Regions from separate parts of the Homo sapiens genome. Here region 2 is linked to region 1. Evidence: promoter capture Hi-C in 16 types of primary human blood cells and fetal thymus (Javierre and others, 2016). All regions are on one chromosome and are shown on one strand. Each heading gives the region's core, a stretch centred on a gene start or on the middle of the fragment in contact. The rest is flanking DNA. Distances are from core to core; before and after follow the strand shown.

Region 1 (4,761 bases), core at 1,379-3,878:
TGAAGGCGGCCAGGGATGGCTTTCTGGAGGTGAGCCTGAAGGGTCCTTTGGGGGAACTGACCTCAGGGCTCCAGCCCTCATGCCATTTTCTCCAGCCACAAGAGTCATGCTTGGGGCTTCTTGGACTACATAGGCAGCTTCAATCTGATGGCTGTGGCCCCTTGGCCTCAACAGAATACATCTTGGAGCCCCCTTTTTACCCCAAACCCCCATTCCTCCTTGCTGTCAGCTGCTTGTGAGCCTTCTCACATCCAGAGAATGTATCAGCATTGTGCAGACTGAAAAGACCCAGAGGAACAAGGCTCCAATGGCAAAATTCCAAGTAGAATGACAAATAAATGGGGAGCCATCTGAGAGCAAGGGAGTCCTGCCCAACACCCGCCCCATGCCTTTCTCAGGGACCTCAGACCAGCCACTCACCTCCATCCTCCCAGCACCACCTGCAACCAGCCCCTTGCCCTCTGCAAACTGGAGCACGACTGGATCTTTAGATGGGGGAAAAATGCTTCATCATGTTCTGCTGCTTCATGCAAAACCAGAAACTCCCTCCCCCTCTTCCCTCCTCCCAGCGCACTCTCCTTCCAGTAAAAAGTGGTTAAAGGGACAGCGCCATCAATTTCCCAGCTCTGAGGGTCTGCTTAGAACTAGGGGGCTGGAAGGAGACAGAGGGCAAAGAGAAAGGAACTGGCAGAGGTCTTTCCTGGGGGATATGTCTGTTCTGTCCTGGGGATCCTGGAGCAGGAAAACCCGCGTAAAGTAGGGGTGTAGTGGGTGTTGAGATAACTGCCTGGGGGAGGTTCAGAGTGGAAGTACGAGTCTACAAACTCTCAAGGGCGTCTCAGGGCTCCCAGCATCCCCAGGGGTCCTTTCGCAGGGGTCCCTAAGCAGGAGGGGAACAGCCCAGAAAACACGGAACTGGACCCCCGACAGGAAGTCCAGGGAGGGGTCCCTGGCTCACTATGTGACCCTGCTGGATCACTTGCCTCCCCTCTCGGGTCCCCTCAGCACAGTGTCCCTCCCTTCCTTCCCCTAAAGTAAAAGCAGAGGGTTAATCTCTTTCCCCGCCCCACGCCCAACAAAGAGCAGGCCCTGTCCCCGGTGCTGAAGCGCCAGCCGCAGCACCACCCCCACTCCCACAGCATAAAACATGAGCCAAAACCAATAAAGAGCCAAATGTCACAGCCGTTGCAGGGCCCCCTAAATCCTGGGGACCCCTTCTTCTACCTGACATCCTATTGGGGTGAGGGACTTTGGTACTCAGAAAGCATCTCATCACTTCCCTGTAAGAGAGAAGGGATGCCGACTCAGGCGCCTGCTTGTCTGTTACAGGAGTGGGGGAAGAGAGGACAAGTTGAGGCTGAGAAGATGGGGAGGGGGAGGGAGAAAAGAGGACTTCCTAGTGTTGACAGAACGGCAAGATGTGGGTTCCCCATCCCCAGTTCAGCCAGAGACCCCTCAAAGTGGAACTTCCTGGGGCAGTCGGGGGTCAGGAGTTGGAGCTTGTCTCTGGGGCAAGACCCCTTCGTTGTACAGATGGAAAAACAAGGGTGGGAGGACACAGCTTGTCCAAGGTCATTCGACCAGCAAACTGCCTAGCTGACCCCAGTGTGCAGAAGCTGGCTCGGGTGACACCCATCATTTCCCCCCACCCCACACAGGGGCCAGCTCTCTCAACTTCATGCCCAAGCCCTCCTACGGTACCCCCACTGTAGGTTCTCTGCCCCTCAAACTCAGCCCAGCTTTCTCCTGCCTGTTCAGGGGACCTTCTGCCCGCTTCGCTGAGGGTCCGTCCCCTTTACTGGGGCTGGCAGCAGGGTCTCCCATCTCCTCTCTCGGGGGCCACTGCAGACTTTTTAGAGAACGCCTTGCCTCCCCCCAACCCCACCCATCCGGGGTTCCCTCTCTCCATCCTCTGCAGTGTCTCCCATACCCCCATTCAGGGTAGCCTTGCTATTCTCCCCAACTCCAGGTCCCCCTTCATCTATTCCGGGGCTGGCCGCGGAGTTTCCTGAGCGCTCTCCAAGTGGGTCCTCTAGATGTTAGGAGAACACTGTACCTCCCCCGGTCAGGGGTCTCCTGTCTCCGTTCTATGGAGCGTCCATGCTCCCATTCAGGACTGCCTTGCTCCCTCCTCTGTTCCGGGGCTGGCTGCACAGTCTCTGCACCCCCTATCCTGAAAGCCTCTCTTAACTATTTGGAAAGCCTCGTGTCCTGTCTCATACAGGGATCCCCTCATCCTAATGACTGCAATCTTCCATTGCTCCATCCCGAGGGCATCCTGCCCCTATTCCCATCAGGTTTCTCCTTGTCCTCTCCCTGTTTCAAGTCCCCTTTCTTATTCCGAACACACTCGCAGGCTCTTCCGACGCGCACCCGGGGGTCCTCACTGGCCCACTCCGGGAGTCCTCTGCCCGCTTCCCCGACCTCGAGGGTCTCCTCTGACGCAGCGTCGATTCCCCTTCCCTCCTCGGTCCCCTGCCCCGCCCCTCTCACTGCGGCGGAGCCGGTCGGCCGGGGGGCCGCAGGGGAGGAGGCGGAGAGGGCGGGGCCCTCCTCCCCACCCTCTCACTGCCAAGGGGTTGGACCCGGCCGCGGCGGCTATAAAAGGGCCGGCGCCCTGGTGCTGCCGCAGTGCCTCCCGCCCCGTCCCGGCCTCGCGCACCTGCTCAGGCCATGATGAGCTTCGGCGGCGCGGACGCGCTGCTGGGCGCCCCGTTCGCGCCGCTGCATGGCGGCGGCAGCCTCCACTACGCGCTAGCCCGAAAGGGTGGCGCAGGCGGGACGCGCTCCGCCGCTGGCTCCTCCAGCGGCTTCCACTCGTGGACACGGACGTCCGTGAGCTCCGTGTCCGCCTCGCCCAGCCGCTTCCGTGGCGCAGGCGCCGCCTCAAGCACCGACTCGCTGGACACGCTGAGCAACGGGCCGGAGGGCTGCATGGTGGCGGTGGCCACCTCACGCAGTGAGAAGGAGCAGCTGCAGGCGCTGAACGACCGCTTCGCCGGGTACATCGACAAGGTGCGGCAGCTGGAGGCGCACAACCGCAGCCTGGAGGGCGAGGCTGCGGCGCTGCGGCAGCAGCAGGCGGGCCGCTCCGCTATGGGCGAGCTGTACGAGCGCGAGGTCCGCGAGATGCGCGGCGCGGTGCTGCGCCTGGGCGCGGCGCGCGGTCAGCTACGCCTGGAGCAGGAGCACCTGCTCGAGGACATCGCGCACGTGCGCCAGCGCCTAGACGACGAGGCCCGGCAGCGAGAGGAGGCCGAGGCGGCGGCCCGCGCGCTGGCGCGCTTCGCGCAGGAGGCCGAGGCGGCGCGCGTGGACCTGCAGAAGAAGGCGCAGGCGCTGCAGGAGGAGTGCGGCTACCTGCGGCGCCACCACCAGGAAGAGGTGGGCGAGCTGCTCGGCCAGATCCAGGGCTCCGGCGCCGCGCAGGCGCAGATGCAGGCCGAGACGCGCGACGCCCTGAAGTGCGACGTGACGTCGGCGCTGCGCGAGATTCGCGCGCAGCTTGAAGGCCACGCGGTGCAGAGCACGCTGCAGTCCGAGGAGTGGTTCCGAGGTACGCAGGCGCGCGGGTGGGGGGAGGGGCGCCCCTGCTGACCCCGCAGCGAACTTTTGGGCTGCGTGACCCAAGGGGGCGCTGCCGGACTGCGCGTGGAGTGGCGCGCTGCTCACCTTCCCTCTGCAAAGTGCATGCCCCTAGTTAAATCGCAGTTTTACTCTGGGTCTCTTGTGGGACGCCCCAACTCTGGGTTGTCCTTCGGTTCCCCCTTTCCAGGTTCTTTACGGCTGTACTTCAACTCTGGGCCCCCTGCTGCTCTCTACCCCAAGCTTAGGCGACCCCACTCTGAGATCCCTCCCCCGTCAAGAAAAAAACAAGTTTCCTCTACAGGAAAAAAGTGGTGCAGGATTCTGGTCTGCAAGCGCTGGAGACTCTTAGCCCTTCTAAGTAGCAAGGCTTCCCCGCCAATGCTGCCATGCCCTCTCCTACACCCCGCAAGAAACTCTATTCCTCTCACCCCTACCAGGCTCCTTCCCACTACCTGCTCAGTGCTTAACGTTCCTACCTTAAATCTTCCACGTGGGGGTGGGTCAGGACCTTTTCGCATCCTTTCTTCCTAGAGGGAACCATTACTACAGTCAGTTGTTGCCTGTGGCGGAGGTGGCTGGTGGGCCCTTTCATGTTTTAATGTCCCCTTTCTCCTTTAGGGAAGCTGGGAGCCTCCCAAGTCTGCCCCTCCCCCAACTCCTTGCAGCCCTGAGTCAGCTAGATTGCGCTGCCCTGAGGCTGTGCCCAGCAGCTGCAGGGTGACCTTGACCAACACTTGCCCTCTCTGGTTTTCATTTCTTTTTGAGTTGAAAGAGGAGGGTAGATCAACTGGGCTGCTTAATCCGGGGAGTTCCATGATGTCTCACGAAACTGTCTGTAAAACTTTGCGTTGTTTTTGAGAGAGAGGGCAGAGGCTTCAGTGATTTTCCAAAAGCATCTGTGATCGACAATAGTTGAGAATCTCCAACCACCTGGATGGTTTCTAAGTCTTTGCCAGCACTAGCAGGGAAAGCTGGGATTTTGATGCATAGCTTTTTCTGTTCCTTTTCCACTCCTCTGCAGAGCAGAACCATCCCCTCCTCCATCTCCGCAGCAAGGCCCCTCCCTGCGCAAACCTCTTTTGGGTTTGCCAGTCGTAGGGGCAGACGTCCCAGGATTGTACTGGCCCACTCAGCTGGCTTCCTTCCTCCCCGCCAAGACTTGTGCCCTGAGTG
Region 2 (4,761 bases), core at 1,073-3,572, 520 kb after region 1:
GTTGTTTGAGCCCAGGAGGTCGAGGCTGCTGTGAGCCATGACCGCTCCACTGCTCTCTAGCCCGGGTAACAGAACAACTGTCTCAAGGAGTTTACCAGTTATACCTCAGAACCAGTCTTTAGGATGTTATCACCACCATAAAACAAAATGGGGGGTGGTGGGAAACAACAGGATGTTGAAAGTTCTTCCTACTACAAAGGTAGAAGAGTGAGAGCCAAGTTTACTCTTGAGTTTAATACATAATAAAGGGAATGAGATTCATGGTTAGATATTAACCATCATTACTGGCTCCCAGCTTATTTTTAGGAGTTTGTGAATAGGTGTTAGGAAGTTTGTATAGCTACTCTTAGTCATAGCCATTCTCTTTTGTTCAGTGGCTTTTAAATTCCTGAAAATTCCAGAAGTCTCCTCTTCTGGAAATTGAGGAGAGATTTAGTGCAAAATGATCAAAACCCCCAAATCCTAAGCCATTTTGTGTTTTTCTGCGCTTTCTGCTATGTATAGGATAGGCTAGGGCAGGGGGTTGGTGGTGTTGGTGGAGTTTGTGTGTTTTAGGATTTGGATTAAAGGCCTTATTGCCTTCACTATTGAAAAAAGAAGATTGGATTATCCAGAGAGAGACATTGTCCTGTAAGTAAAAATCTATCGGAAGTATTGCTTCCTAGGATACCGGCTTGACTGTAGCTGGGATCTTCCCTAATTAAAAGAAAGCTTATCCCCCCGCCCCCAGTATAATTTGTTCTGAAGTATGTTTTATGGAAATTATGGTTAATAGCTTAGTCACATTACTAACCTGGTTCAATGGGACTGAGGCTGTGTATGCAGATAGACTGGCTTGTGTTGGTTTTGCATACCCATGGCTGCACCTGTTACCTATAAGGATGACACCCTGTTTGGTTCAAATCAAAGAATGAGTTAATCCTGTGAAGTCTCTGGAAACTTGCAATTGTGGGCTTTTTTCCTTCCCTGAGGGTCTGGTAGAACTGACACGGACTCTCAGTTCTGTAATTGGACTGGGCGCTCATGTAGTTAGAAATAACCTATGTACTTGTTACAGCAGAAGAGTTGTAATGGAGTATAAAGAGCTGACCCTCGACTCCCCTTTTTTTCATTGATAGTTAAGATTGCCAGATTCCCAAAAGGTAGCATCAAGTGGAACAATTCAAGATAGTATCATTTGTTGTATACACATAAGTAAACATTTAAGGCAACAAAACAAAACAAAACACACTTATGGTAACCCATTCTGTTGAGGAGTCCAAAACTCGAATAAAGCGCCTCATTGCCTTTAACTGGTTCTGTGGCAGTGAGATCATCATCCTTATGCTGGCTCACCTAGTGTCTCTCTCTCTCTCCCGTTTTCTCTCTCCCTCTCTTATCCCCTTGACTCTCCCCACTTCTCATCTTCTCTTTAGATTATGTGGTAGCTATCCTCAAGAGCTCATAGTGCCTGCCTGGATCACTGACAAAGAACTGGAAAGTGTATCAAGTTTCAGGTCCTGGAAGCGCATCCCTGCCGTCATCTACAGGTAAGTTAAACTGGACCAGTCCCAGCTTGGGCTGGTGCTGCTGCCTGCTGCATATGGTCTGCTGCCTCTGCTGCTGCTAACCTGGGAAGGGTGGGGAGAGTTCAGAGAACTTTCTAGGCAAGGCTGTACTTCCTTATTGTTAAAGCTTCTCCTCCAGTAACACATCAGTACTGACTGCATTCAGAACACTAGCTGGTTGTTCATTTGAAACAGATAAGAAAGTTTTAGTTGTAAAGTGGCTGGACTTGCTATTTCAATATCCTTCTTACATTCTGTGAGAAGATAATGTGCTTACTAAGCATTTAGCTTCAGCTGTTAGCAGGGCTTTTGGATTGAGAGATGAGTCTTAGAAAGTGATCTTTGGGAATATAGGGTCGAGTTGGCTCTGATTGTCTTTGTGGTTGAAACTTTGACATGTGGAAGAACTCTGTTTCGAGAGGAAGCATTTAGAGAAGAAGACTGAGGCATGACTAGATAGAAGATTTCAGTGATCAGAGGCATGAGAGCCATGGGATGCAAGTTCTAGATGGGGATGGTGGCATGGTGATGGAGCACAGATTTTGGAATCACAGATCTGAATTCAGGTATATTCTTAGACTTCTTGCTAAGGCACCTTGAATAAGTTCCCTAACTGACCTCAGTCTGTTCCTAATGAATACAATGGGAATGGTAGTTCTTATTTTGTAGATATGTTCTGATTCTAAATGAGGGGCTATAAACACTGAGCTTCTGTACCAGCATTTGGAATAGGTTAAATCTCTTGAGTGCTGCTTTTGTAATTCATTGAATATCTTAGTTCTCACAGAATCCTATTAAATTTTAAAGAAGTCCTTCCTTCTTATTCTGGAAATGTTTTGGATGTCATCTCTTTGTAATGTTTACATTCTCCATTTCATTTTCCCAGTTTGCCGGCTTTTTGGACTCTCCCTGAGTTGGGCCAATCCAGTGGCTTACAGTTAGAAACTTCATTCCACTGAAATATTGAGATTGTAGGAAGGGATTTGTCTCCTTGTGGAATTCCTACAGAGGTAACCAGCTTGTTCATTTAGTCTACTAAAGGCAAACTCTGATGCCCACTCTGAATGGAGAGAGATGGAAAAGTATTTGCTCTGGCCCAGTGGAACTCATTACGTTTTTAATCTCAATTCTCATCACTGTTGTTTTCAGACACCCCTAGAAAAGTCAGTCACCAAATTTACCTGTCATTCAAGTGGTAAGGATGCTACAGGAACTAGAGAGTAGTGAAAGCTGAAGGGATTTATGAGTCTTATCAATGATCAGCTCAGCTGGAATGGGGAAAGCAGCCAGTTGCTGCTCTGGCCAACAACTGTGTTAGGTCAGCAGCCCTGGCATCTGTGGGGCTTGCTGACTTTGACCAAAAGGGGGAAGGTACTCTTATTTGCAAAATAAGAGGCTTTAGGTGAATTCTCCCTTTGGGAAGAGAAGCTTAAGAGGGCTGGTTGAAGAAAAACTTCCTTTTTTTCTAAATTTTATTCTAGAGGGCATGCACCTTCTAAAATTAATTCTAGAGGGCATGCACCCTAGGTTTTCCCCCCCTTTTTCTAGAGATACAAGAGGATATATAAATGAAAAATTTTATTTGCAGTTTTTCAGAGAAAGTCTTTCAAAAGATCACAAAGTTCTTGGTGTAGTCATCCATGCAAAATCAGGCAGGTTTCCTGGAACTGGGCTCTGTCTCAGAACATGTGTCTTGTATCGCTGAGATGCAGACTGGGTTGCTGTAGTATTTGGGAGCTTTGTAAGGGGCGTGTGGAAGAATCGGATCCTCCACCATGCTCTGCTTTGCCAGCCTAGGTGGCAGGATGCCTGGAACTCTTGACATCCATTTCCTGAATTTAGTTGTCTGTAGATTGGGTCATGATTCCTGAGGTTGCCAGCAGCAGTTACTTGACAGCACCATGCTGAACCAGCGCTTGATTAGGGCTTTGTCCTACTGTGATGAGAGAGCACTTAATTGGATTTATAACTGAAGGTAGAGATTGCTCTAACATAGCAAGATGATGTAAAGGGCACCCATCTGTAGTGCAGTTCACAGCTTTTTCCTTTGTGCATGTGGTGATTATTCTAAACTCCTAGTTACTTAAGGGAGCTTGCCTAAATCTAAGTTGAGGTTACTTAAGACAATTCTGTTCCTATATAAAATTGAAGCATTCTGTGTTTTAGTAGGGAGGGCTTTATCTGTTGGACATCATAATTTTTATACTTTGCCTGGTTCTGTTAGTGATAGAAATGCATTCCTTTAGTGATTTTTAACTGTAGTGTTTGAATTATCTTTCATGTAGTCTGAAGCATTTTAGAAGACTGCAGAAAACATAATTGTTTATTGCAATAGTCCAGTTGAAATCTAATAGCTACTATAATGCAGTGTCCCCTAAAACCCAAGATCCAGGCTGAAGAGCGCCATCTACTGCTCCTCTTGGGCACTGCTGGGAAGCATTGAAGAAGAGGAGGATGTTCAGGAAAGGCCCAACCAGCCTCTTGTGCAGGGTTTGGAGTCATTCAGCTCAGTGGTTGCCTGTTATTTGCTAGGAGACATTTTATAAAGAATCATTGAGGTTTTATTTCTATTTTGGCCCCATTCAGCACGTGAGCCAGTTGAGCATGTTGGCAATACACAAGTACTTACAGCTACTTGTCTCCCAGGGAGGGAGGCTTTAAAAACTACAAGCAAACTGGTGATTTCAGTGGAATTTGATTAGTGCCAAATTTAACTTATTTGTGAGTTTTAGGAGTAAAAACAAATTACAGTACATTTTCATCGTCCCAAAAAACCCATTCACAGGGCACCCAGCCACCCTAGCCCTGAATAATTAAGATGTCCAATGGATGAAGCCCCTGCTAGTAAAACATAGAGTGCTTCAGTTTTATATAGAAACATACTCGTTTTAAGTAACCCCAACTTAGAATTAGGCAAGCTCCCTTAAGTAACTACGAGTTTATAATAGTCACTACATGCAGAAATCTACTTCCATCTTTATAGATTCGCCTATTCTGGATACTTCATGTTAATTGTCGTACAATAAGTTGCCTTTTGTGACTGACTTCTTTCACTTGTCATAACATATTTGAGGTTCATCAGTGTCCTAGCCTGTATCAGAACTTTATTCCTCTTTACTGCCAAGTAATAGAATTTTTCTAACTTTTTATCAGTTAAAATTGCCTAACTAGGAAAAGTCTGGGTTTTAATAGCACCTTAAAGTAGACTGTGATT

Evidence for each region. Contacts are between HindIII fragments. The CHiCAGO score rates a contact against its expected background, and 5 or more counts as called.
Region 2: a contact is called between a fragment that was not itself captured here and the fragment with the promoter of NEFH in region 1, in 1 of 17 cell types (megakaryocytes). The highest score is 6.7, in megakaryocytes.

The regions. Positions count from the first base shown.
Region 1 is chr22:29,477,590-29,482,350 of GRCh38, forward strand. It overlaps NEFH (neurofilament heavy chain), which reads left to right and starts at 2,629. Exons shown (of 4, transcript NM_021076.4): 1 at 2,629-3,556. The coding sequence starts at 2,674. LOC107985541 (a long non-coding RNA gene) reads right to left here and starts at 537. Exons shown (of 4, transcript XR_001755482.2): 1 at 421-537. RefSeq lists enhancers at 589-1,090, 3,651-4,505. The HindIII fragment of the contact is 8,116 bases long and covers 1-3,826 here.
Region 2 is chr22:30,001,465-30,006,225 of GRCh38, forward strand. MTMR3 (myotubularin related protein 3) reads left to right here. Exons shown (of 20, transcript NM_021090.4): 9 at 1,416-1,529. Among named protein-coding and RNA genes, the nearest start is that of MIR6818, 3.2 kb to the right of the region's middle. The HindIII fragment of the contact is 1,301 bases long and covers 1,673-2,973 here.